3 separate regions of the Homo sapiens genome follow, and regions 1 and 3 are each linked to region 2. Evidence: promoter capture Hi-C in human tissues and cell types (Jung and others, 2019). All regions are on one chromosome and are shown on one strand. Each heading gives the region's core, a stretch centred on a gene start or on the middle of the fragment in contact. The rest is flanking DNA. Distances are from core to core; before and after follow the strand shown. Region 1 holds the start of SNORA30 (small nucleolar RNA, H/ACA box 30). Region 2 holds the start of PPP4C (protein phosphatase 4 catalytic subunit). Region 3 has its middle 17 kb from the start of FBRS.

What was found. Contacts are between HindIII fragments. The study calls those that stand out against the background at their distance.
Region 1: a contact is called between a fragment that was not itself captured here and the fragment with the promoter of PPP4C in region 2, in 2 of the 25 tissues and cell types used here (bladder and spleen).
Region 3: a fragment that was not itself captured here is called in contact with the fragment with the promoter of PPP4C in region 2 in 1 of the 25 tissues and cell types used here (spleen).

Annotation. Positions count from the first base shown.
Region 1 is chr16:30,709,713-30,713,177 of GRCh38, forward strand. It overlaps SRCAP (Snf2 related CREBBP activator protein), which reads left to right. Exons shown (of 34, transcript NM_006662.3): 7 at 1-23; 8 at 139-416; 9 at 1,042-1,135; 10 at 1,287-1,376; 11 at 1,859-2,032; 12 at 2,123-2,445; 13 at 2,550-2,727; 14 at 2,967-3,103. SNORA30 (small nucleolar RNA, H/ACA box 30) reads left to right here and starts at 825; the gene lies at 825-953. The HindIII fragment of the contact is 4,122 bases long and covers 1-3,465 here.
Region 2 is chr16:30,074,361-30,077,890 of GRCh38, forward strand. PPP4C (protein phosphatase 4 catalytic subunit) reads left to right here and starts at 1,634. Exons shown (of 9, transcript NM_002720.3): 1 at 1,634-1,734; 2 at 1,955-2,115. The coding sequence starts at 2,018. RefSeq lists enhancers at 356-535, 2,158-2,247 and a silencer at 1,908-2,047. The HindIII fragment of the contact is 17,066 bases long and covers 1-3,096 here.
Region 3 is chr16:30,673,258-30,677,020 of GRCh38, forward strand. It overlaps the pseudogene RNU6-416P. Among named protein-coding and RNA genes, the nearest start is that of FBRS, 17 kb to the left of the region's middle. RefSeq lists an enhancer at 3,594-3,763. The HindIII fragment of the contact is 5,104 bases long and covers 1-3,763 here.

The DNA.
Region 1 (3,465 bases), core at 228-2,727, 640 kb after region 2:
TGCTTCTCGCCTGGATGATGAAGGTGTGTGTTCTCTTTGGTCCTGTTACTCTTCCTCATGTACCCTTTCCAGAGCTGAAAAACCCACCCTGTGGCTTGCAGGGCCCGTGGACTTTGTGACCTTGTTCTCCTGCTATAGATGGGGACTTTCAACCCCAAGAGGATGAGGAAGAGGATGATGAGGAAACGATTGAAGTTGAAGAACAACAGGAAGGCAATGATGCAGAGGCCCAGAGGCGTGAGATTGAGCTGCTTCGCCGTGAGGGAGAATTGCCACTGGAAGAGCTGCTCCGTTCCCTTCCCCCTCAGCTGTTGGAAGGGCCTTCCAGCCCCTCTCAAACCCCCTCATCTCATGATAGTGACACCCGAGATGGGCCTGAAGAAGGTGCTGAAGAAGAGCCCCCTCAGGTGTTGGAGGTATAGGCAGAAGGAGCAGAGGGAGGGTTCAGAGGGGGAACAGAGGGAGAGGTTCAGGGTCTGAGTTCCGGGCTGTGAGGTTGGTTATGAGTTTTAGGAGTTCTGCTAGTAATGGACATTTGGGCTCTTTGGGGATGACTGGGGAAGAATCTGTTTGGGGCAAGTTGCATTTTGTGATTGGCAGGTTTTGGCGCTATAGTGGAAGAGCGTATTGCACTTTCCTCTTTAAATTGCTGTGTGGTCTTGAAAAAGTACTTCCTCTGACCGTTACTTGCCACTTCTCTGAACATGCCCTAATGTTCCCTTATTGGCTTACAGGTTGGAAGCTGGCATGGTACCCTTAAGTCTTTTCTGTTTCTCCATATGTCTCAAGTGCATGGGGAAGTGTTGGGTGCCTTTATTTGTTACCTGGCACTTTCACAGTTCCTTCCCCAGGCAGTGGGGCCAGGATTTGGTAGCTGGTGCTGAGAGAAAACCCTTGATTGTATTCTTGCCCTGGGATTATACCAGTGGCAACTGTCACTCAATGGGACAGTGATTCTCCTGTGACACCTTTTTCAAGTTTGTGCCATTCTTCTGCTACTGTAACCTTAGACCCTTCCCTTTTTTATCTTTTGCCATACAGATAAAGCCCCCACCCTCTGCTGTCACACAGCGCAACAAACAGCCTTGGCATCCAGATGAAGATGATGAAGAGTTTACTGCCAACGAAGAGGAAGGTCAGGGCTGTTCGGTTTGTCCTATTGCCCCTTACCCCTTGAATGAATTGTCTGGACCTAACCTTTCAGGCTTTCTCATCTGTTTCATTTGGACTGTGTCCTGTGCCTCTAGCCTCTATCCCTATTAATCTTGCTTCTGTCTCTTTCCTAGCGGAGGATGAAGAGGATACTATAGCAGCTGAGGAACAGTTGGAAGGGGAGGTGGATCATGCCATGGAGCTGAGCGAGTTGGCTCGAGAAGGTGACATTTACCAGACATTTTACTAAGCATCCACTTGGTGTCTGCGGTGTGCAGTACCAAGGATAAAGAGATGAATAAGGCACTTTGTATCCACCCTGGAGGAATTCCATGTCTAATGACTAAGACAGACTTGTAAACCAGTAATGATAAGTAGAAAGTGATGAGTGCTTATGATAGAAGTTTAAATGGTGATGTGGGAGTGAAATGGAGGGAAGAGCTAATGTAGGAAGATACTGACAGCATTTGACCTGGACCTTGAGAGGCTCACCAGGTTGATAATGTTCTTCCCAATTCCCATGGTACTTCCCCCAGGTTGTGGGGCTTGGCTTTGCTAGCTGATGCTGAAAGTAAGCTCTTTTGCCTCCCCTCAGACCTGGGCCTAGCAGTATCTACAGAGACCTAGGTAAAATTAACTGGTACTACTCAGACCTCCCCTTCTCCCTCCCCTCAGAGCAACCAAAAGCTTTTTGTTTCTCTTCCAGGTGAGCTTTCCATGGAGGAGCTATTGCAGCAGTATGCAGGAGCCTATGCCCCAGGCTCTGGGAGCAGTGAAGATGAGGATGAAGATGAGGTTGATGCTAATAGCTCTGACTGTGAACCAGAGGGGCCCGTGGAAGCGGAAGAGCCTCCTCAGGAGGATAGTAGCAGTCAGTCAGGTGAATATGTGGTCATGAAGCAGGAGCTGGGGAGGGTGGCCATTGGAAGAGCAGGTATGATGAGCAGTAAGCCTTGGTCTTACCCTTTAGACTCTGTGGAGGACCGGAGTGAGGATGAGGAAGATGAACATTCAGAGGAGGAAGAAACAAGTGGAAGTTCAGCATCAGAGGAATCTGAGTCTGAAGAGTCTGAGGATGCCCAATCACAGAGCCAAGCAGATGAAGAGGAGGAAGATGATGATTTTGGGGTGGAGTACTTGCTTGCCAGGGATGAAGAGCAGAGTGAGGCAGATGCAGGCAGTGGGCCTCCTACTCCAGGGCCCACTACTCTAGGTCCAAAGAAAGAAATTACTGACATTGCTGCAGCAGCTGAAAGTCTCCAGCCCAAGGGTTACACGCTGGCCACGACCCAGGTATCCCCAGGTTCTGGCCTCTCCTTTCTCATGTCTTGACTTTCTCATGTCCCCACAACAAATGCCTCATTTCCATTGTGTTACCTATATTTCCTCTCTGACAGGTAAAGACGCCCATTCCCCTGCTTCTGCGGGGCCAGCTCCGGGAGTACCAGCACATTGGGCTAGACTGGCTGGTTACCATGTATGAGAAGAAGCTTAATGGCATTCTTGCTGATGAGATGGGGCTTGGGAAGACCATCCAGACCATCTCTCTGCTTGCCCACTTGGCTTGTGAGAAAGGTAAGTAGGCAAGGCCCCTTCTTTTGTTCCCCCTAGTCTAGCTCCCTGGGAGCTTGTTCAGTGATGACTCCAGCTTCATTGACTTTTGCTTTATTGACTCCGGTCATTAACTGTATAGAGAGGACAGTGTAGGTGCTAGGATTCCTAGGAAGGGCCAAAGGGTGGCCAGGGTTATAACTGAGAAATCAGAACCACAGAATTTACATTTCCTTACCATCTCTGATTTTTTTGCCTAACAGGTAACTGGGGTCCCCATTTAATCATTGTTCCCACCAGCGTGATGTTGAACTGGGAGATGGAGTTGAAACGGTGGTGCCCCAGCTTTAAAATCCTCACTTACTATGGAGCCCAGAAAGAGAGGAAGCTCAAGCGGCAGGTTCGATGTTTCATGTGGTCACTTTCCTCCCATTGATGCCTCCTTTATTTTTAAGCCCTTTCCTCAGGTGAATTCCTTTCTCTCCTCTTTCTTTTTTAAAAAAAATTTTTTAATTTTTTGTAAAAATAAAGATGGGGTCTCACTATGTTACCCAAGCTGACCTTGAACACCTGGGCTCAAGAGATCCTCCCACCTCAACCTCCCAAAGTACTGAGACTATAGCTGTGAGCCACCGCACCCAGGCCCCTCCTCTTTCTGTCGCTCCATTCTTTTGCTGGGACTTTCTCTTTTCTTCCAACCTGATTACTGTCCTTTGAGGAGTTTAGCATGTCTTCCCTTTGCTCTCTTCTTTTCATCCCACT
Region 2 (3,530 bases), core at 384-2,883:
AATGAAAATACAAAAATTAGCCAGGCGTCGTGGCACATGCCTGTAATCCCAGCTACTTGGGAGGCTGAGGCAGGAGAATCGCTTGAACCTGGGAGGCGGAGGTTGCAGTGAGCCGAGATTGTGCCACTGCACTCCAGTCGGGGTGAAAAAGCAAGACTCCGTCTCAAAAAAAAAAAAAAAAAAAAAAAAAGAGGCCGGGCACGGTGGTACACGCCTGTGGTACAGCACTTTGGGAGGCTGAGGCAGGTGGATCATGAGGTCAGGAGATCGAGACCATCCTGGCTAACACGGTGAAACCCCGTCTCCACTAAAAAATACAAAAAAATTAGCCGGGCCTGGTGGCGGGCGCCTGTAGTCCCAGCTATTCAGGAGGCAGAGGCAAGAGAATGGCGTGAACCCGGGAGGCGGAGCTTGCAGTGAGCCGAGATGGCGCCACTGGACTGCAGCCTGGGCGACAGAGCGAGAGAGTGAGACTCTGTCTCAAAAAGAAAAACGGAAGCAACTAAGAAATGTCAAGAGTGCCATTTTGGAATCAGAGAAGTCATGCTGACTGAGGCACAGGCTTGGCGTGGGAAAAGTGGACTCCAATCTGTTAACTTCTGAAGTTGTCCACGGCAAATATTTCTCTGACGGCACAGGAAGAGATCTGAACTTGGCTTCCCTCATCCATTGAACAAGTATTAACAAGTATCTATATATGCCTACCGTGCCAGGCCTTATTCTAACCACTGGGGCTGCAATATTTAAAAAGACAAAGTTGGATCCTCCAAGGACTGTGGTGGGGAAGGCTGACAAAACAAGTAACAAAAATGTGTAACATTAAAAAAAAAGTGTAATGTTAAAAAAAAAAAGTGTAATAAAGTTACAAAGCCTAGCCCCAGCTCGGCTTGTTTCCCTAGCTGAAATGGGGGATGGCCGGGCGCGGTGGCTCACGCCTGTAATCCCAGCACTTTGGGAGGCCCGAGGCGGGAAGATAGCTTGTGCCCAGGAGTTCGAGGTCACAGTGACCTATGATAGCCCCACCGACTCCAGCCTGAGCGATAGAGCGAGACCCTGTCTCTAATTTAGAAAAAAGAAAGTTGTGGCCGGGCGCGGTGGCTCACGCCTGTAATCCCAGCACTTTGGGAGGCCGAAGGGTGGTGGTGGGTGGGGGCGCGGATCACCTGAGGTAGGGAGTTAGAGACCAGCCTGACCAACATGGAGAAACCCCGTCTCTATTAAAAATACAAAATTAGCCCAGCGTGGTAGCGCATGCCTGTAATCCCAGCTACTCAGGAGGCTGAGGCAGGAGAATTGCTGGAACCCGGGAGGCGGAAGTTGCGGTGAGCCGAGTTCGTGCCATTGCACCCCGGCCTGGGCAACAGCAAAACTCCGTCTCAAAAAAAGAAAAGACAGTTGTTTAAACATTTTTATGAAATGATATGGGAGGGGACTGGTCTAGGGTTTCTAATAGCCTCCACATCGCCCAGCGGCAGAGCCCACAAAACTGCCACTGGCCGCCACCGGGTTCCTCCACCTCCTTCCCGATCTCAGGCTGGAGAAGTGGTGCAGGGGTCGCTGCGAAAGGAGAGGAGCGTGTATGACGCCACATCCGGCGCGCGGCGGAACTGGCCTCCTTTGCTTCCGCGGCGGGGCCGGAAGTAGGAGCGGCGGCGGCGGCGGCGGCGGCGGTCGAAAGCGGAGTGAAAGAGGGAGGCAGGGAGCCGGAGAGCCGGAACCGGAGTCGCAGCGGCGGTAATAGTGCGAGACTCCTCTAAGTCACCGTCCTTAGCGCGGGACCGCGGGGTTCGACGGGAGTTAGCGGGGGTGCGGCCAGGCCGTTGGACGCCGGGGGGTCCTGGGGCCGATGTGAGGGGAGGCGGGGGTGGGGGAGCCGGGCCGGCTCTAGAATCGAGTTGTCCGCTCCGAGCCCCGGACGGACACTGATCCGCGGGCTCGTCTTGGCCTTTCCCAGGAGACCCCTGTGCGGTGCGGAGGGGGCGGCGGCCCCGACTCTGACCCGCGCCGGGGGTGGGCCATGGCGGAGATCAGCGACCTGGACCGGCAGATCGAGCAGCTGCGTCGCTGCGAGCTCATCAAGGAGAGCGAAGTCAAGGCCCTGTGCGCTAAGGCCAGGTGAGCTCGTTGGCCCTGGGGAAGGGAGGCCAAGCCGCCGCCCACGGGTTCTGGCCTGGGGCAAACCCAACTGAGAACTTTGGGCTTGCCTCGTTCTGGAAGCTTTCCCAGAGAGGAGCAGGATGGAGCCGCTGCCCTCGAGGAAAAGCTAGCCTGCTCGGGGAAGACAGAGTGGATAAAGACACTTAAAGTTTATTAGACGATGTGTTTCCAGTGGAGTAAGAGTGTTACATAAAGTACTTAGGAAACTCAAGGAAACAAGTCCATCTGTCGGGGGACGGAAGCTTGTTGGAGGGGGGCCGAACTGTGGGAGAGGCCTCGAATAAGGAGGTGGTAAAAGAGTCAGCCAAAAACCAAAAGTTTAAGACAGGAAAGTTAAAGACCCTGTGATTTATAAAAGTCTTCTAATTACAACAACCCTTAAAGATTGGTGGTATTGTACTCATTTTACAGGTGGGAACTTTCATGTTCAAAGTTACCCACAAGTAAGGAATGGGGTCTGAAGCCAGCTCTTAGTGTCCTGTCCTTTTTCAGGCCATAATGCAAAAAGGTGGAGTTGGATCATTCACGTTCAGGGTGGGAGCCTGAGAAATCGTAGCAAGTAAGCCAGGGTAGAATTAAGCACGATAGGGAGGCCAGTTCAGAGTTCTGTGGGAAGTAGGATGATGTAGTGGTTAAGGCTCTAGGTTTTGCAGTGTGAGATGGCTCTAGGTTTGAATCTGAACTCTGCCGCTTTCTAGCTGTGTTAGTAATCTTAAGTGTCTTTATTTGTAAAGCAGAATTAATAGTACTTAATAAGATGATTGTGAAGATTCAGTGAGTTGGTGCTGGAGATGAGGTTAGCACAGTGTTTTGGTACAGCATACGTGCTTGATAATCACCAGGTATTCTATTTCTTTTGGAAGAGGGCAATAATGAGATGGGCTAAAGCCATCAGGGAGGGCTTTTGAGTGGAGGTAGGCCTTGAAGGATGAAGATAATTTGGCTAGCTGATGGAGGCAGGGCCAGTGAGGGAAGGGCATTCCAAGCAGGACGAATGTAACAGTGGAGGCCCTGAGATGCGTGGGGAACAGTCAGGGGTTTAATTACCTGCCTCCTCTGGGGAACTGTGTGATTGTGGCTTCTACCAGGCTGGAGAATTGTGGCAGAAGAGCCCACAGAATTACCCTACGTTTATTGAACAGTAAACATTGGCCTTTACAGGGCCACTATTTGGCCTGGCCCGGTACTGGCAAAAAACTTCTATCCATCTCTTCCCCCCAGCAATCCTATGAGGTTGGAATCATTTGCTGCATTTTATCGAATAGGAAGCCATGACTCGTAGAGGTCTGGTGACTTAACTGAGGTCACCCACTGAGGACGTGGCAGAGCTGGGTCCTGAATCTGTGGCCCTCAGGCTCTTTGCCTGGCCCTGC
Region 3 (3,763 bases), core at 877-3,376, 600 kb after region 2:
CACCACACCCAGACTTGTTTTGCTTTTGAGGCAGCTTTTGAGCAAAACAACAGCCGGTCTGTTGCCCAGGCTGGAGTACAGTGGTGCAATCACAGATCACTTCAGCCTCGAACTCCTATTCCCAAGTGATCCTCCTGCCTCAGCCTCTCGAGTAGCTGGAACTACAAGCCTGTGCCACCACATTTGGCTAGCTTTAAATTTTTGTAGAGACAGGGTTCTTGTCTTGTTGTCCAAGCTGGTCTCAAACTCCTGGTCCCAAGCAATCCTCCTGCCTCAACTTCTGAAAGCGCTGGAATTACAGGCGTGAGCCACTGTGCCTGGCCCATAAATGTACCTGTTGCCTTAGGAAAGATGCAGCCAACATTCCCTGCCACCACCACACATATCCAGGATGTCTAGGGAAGGCTCAAGCCTAGATTGCTCCAACAGAAGTCAGAAACAAGTGACCAGAAGGTGAACGTTGGCTTGCAGACAAGATTTCACATGGAAGTTCTTGTTTTCAGCTTCTCTTGAAAAATCCAAAAATCTGTGGTCACTAGACCTGCTTACCCCCATGGCTTTCCTTTGAAATGGGGCATAATCTCACCAGATTGCGACTGTCCCCTCCACTTGTTGTCTTGGAGTAGACCACAGTCACTATTCAGGCTACCTCTCTGGCCCCTATAGGCATTTGAGAGTGACTCTCAGTGAAATATTTTCTTTCTTTCTCTCTCTCTTTTTTTTTTTTTTAGACAGAGTCTTGCTCTGTTGTCCAGGCTGGAGTGCAGTGGCACAATCTCAGGTCACTGCAACCTGCGCCTCCCAGATTCAAGCGATTCTCCTGTCTCAGCCTCGCAAGTAGCTGGGATTACAGGCATGCAACACCATGCCTGGCTAATTTTTTGTATTTTTAGTAGAGACAGGAGTCACACTAAATGTTGGCCAGCCTCGTCTCGAACTCCTGACCTCAGGTGATCCGCCCGCCTCAGCCTCCCAAAATGCCGGGATTACAGGCGTGAGCCACCGTGCCCAGTAGAGTTAAATATTTTCTAGACATGCCTATCCCACCTCTCCTAGATCTCTCCCCAAGCACCTCAGATATCCCAAATTAAGTCATCTTCGAGATCTGATGCCCCACTTCCCCCAAGGTTTCCATCTCTGTGTCATCAGCACTCAAGTCAGAAACCTCCCTCTTCCCTCACTTGATGCAGTTTCTGAGCTGCCTTTGATTCTTTCAACCACTGTTGACTTCATCCACAGTGCCAGGCACTGCACTTAGTGGCTGGGGATACAGAGGTACACAAAACAAACCCCAGCCATCCTGGAGCTTACATTGGACTATGAAAGAGGACAATTACAGAAGCTAATGACAGAATTCCAAGGGCCAGGCGTGCCGTCTCTGCCTGTAATCTTTGGGAGGCTGAAGTAGGCAGATCACCTGAGGTCAGGAGTTCGAGACCAGCCTGGCCAACATGGTGAAACCCTGTCTCTATTATAAAAATACAAAAATTGCCAGGCGCGGTGGCTCACGCCTGTAATCCCAGCACTTTGGGAGGCCGAGGCAGGAGGATCACAAGGTCAGGAGATCAAGACCATCCTGGCTAACATGGTGAAACCCCGTCTCTACTAAAAATACAAAAAATTAGCCGGGCATGGTGGCGGGTGCCTGTAGTCCCAGCTACTCGGGAGGCTGAGGCAGGAGAATGGCGTGAACCCGGGAGGTGGAGCTTGCAGTGAGCCGAGATGGCGCCACTGCACTCTAGCCTGGGCGAGAGTGAGAGACTCCATCTCAAAAAAAAAAAAAAAAAATTAGCCAGGTGTGGTGGCACACACCTGTAATCCCAGCTACTCAGGAGGCTGAGGCAGGACAATCACTTGAACCTGGGAGGTGGAGGTTGCAGTGAGCCAGGATCGCTCCATTGCACTCCAGCCTGAGCGACAGAGCCAGACTCCATCTCAAAAAAGAAAAAAATTCATTTTTAATTTTTCTGGGTACATAGTAAGCGTATATATTTATGTGTTACAAGATATTTTGATACAATCATGCAATGTATAATAATCACAAAAATATGGAAAGCTTCACGAATTTGCAAGTCATCCTTGCTAAGGGGCCATGCTGACCTCTGTATAATGTTTTAGTATATGTGGCTGGGTGTGGTGGCCCACGCCTGTAATCCTAGCACTTTGGGAGGCCGAGGTGGGCGGATTGCCTGAGGCAGGAGCTTGAGACCAGCCTGGGCAACACGGTAAAACCCCGAAGTCCCTTCCTCACTCAGGCCGAGGCAGGCCCTTGAGCCCAGGAGTTCGAGACCAGCCTGAGCAACATGGTAAAACCCCGTCTCTATGAAAAATACAAAAATTAGGATGTGTCGGCCGCACGCCTGTAGTCCCAGCTACTTGGGAGACTGAGGCAAGAGGATCACTTGAGCCCAGGAGGTTGAGGCTACAGTGAGCAATGATGGCACCACTGCACTCCAGCCTGGGAGACAGAGCAAGACCTTGTCAAGAAAGAAAGAAAGAGAGAGAGAGAAGAGAGAGAGAGAGAGAGAGAGGAAGAGGAAAGTTATACATATACATGTTTGTTATTTAAAAGTAGAGATGGGAGCTGAGCACAATGGCTCTTGCCTCTAATCCCAGCACGTCAGTAACTGAGGCAGGAGGATCACTGGAGCTCAGGAGTTCAAGACCCGTCTTTATGTAAAAACAAAACCAAACACATGGCCAGGTGCAGTGGCTCACGCCTGTAATCCCAGCACTTTGGGAGGCCGAGGCAGGCGGATCACCTGAGATCAGGAATTTAAGACGAGTCTGGTCAACATGACGAAACCCCGACTCTACAAAAATATAAAAATTAGCTGGGCACAGTGGTGCACGACTGTAATCCCAGCTACTTGGGAGGCTGATGCATGAGTTGCTTGAAAACGGGAGGTGGAGGTTGCAGTGAGCCAAGATCGCACCACTGCACTCTAGCCTGGGCGACAGAGTGAGACTTCGTCTCAAAAACAAAAACAAAAACAACACAGATCTCTGTGGATAGACATTTAAGTTGTTTCTAGCATTTGTGTTATGACAAACAGGATTTCTGGAAGTATTTTTATTATTTTATTATTATTGCTGACATAAAATTCACATACCATGAAATGTACCTTTTAAAGTGTGCCATTGCAGTGGTTTTCGTATATTCACAAAGTCGTACAACCATTGCCATTATCTAATTCTGGAGCCATTCAGAAACACCCATTTTTTTATGGCCATGTGTGCATGTGTCAGAAGAAGGCACTCTTGGAGGTGCAGCTGATGGGTTGTACAACCACTGCCATTATCTAATCATGGAGACATTCAGAAACACCCATTTTGTATGGTTGTGTGTGCCTGTGTGAGCAGAAGGCACCTGTGGAGATGCAGCTGATGGGCTTTGGGGTGATGAGTCCTTCCAACGGAAAGAAAGCAGGGCCCAGAGGCTTGGGATCACCACATTACCCCTGCTACACTGAGCAATTTGCAATGACTGCCAGTCCCTCAGGAAAAGTTAGTTCTATCTGGATTTTTGCACATCGGATTTCCTTCAAGCAGGCTAGACCCTTAAATATTCCAGTTAGAACAGTCTAATGATAGGAAATGCCCCAGTAACATGGGAGTTGTAATATCTCAATTCACAGACCTTGCAGTTGTGTGGTCCTTTTAAAACCTAAGTCAGGTGATGTCATTCCTCACCTGACTTTTGAGAGTTTTCAAAACTCTCAAAAAACGGAAAAAAGCGGTGGCTTACGCCTATAATCCCAAC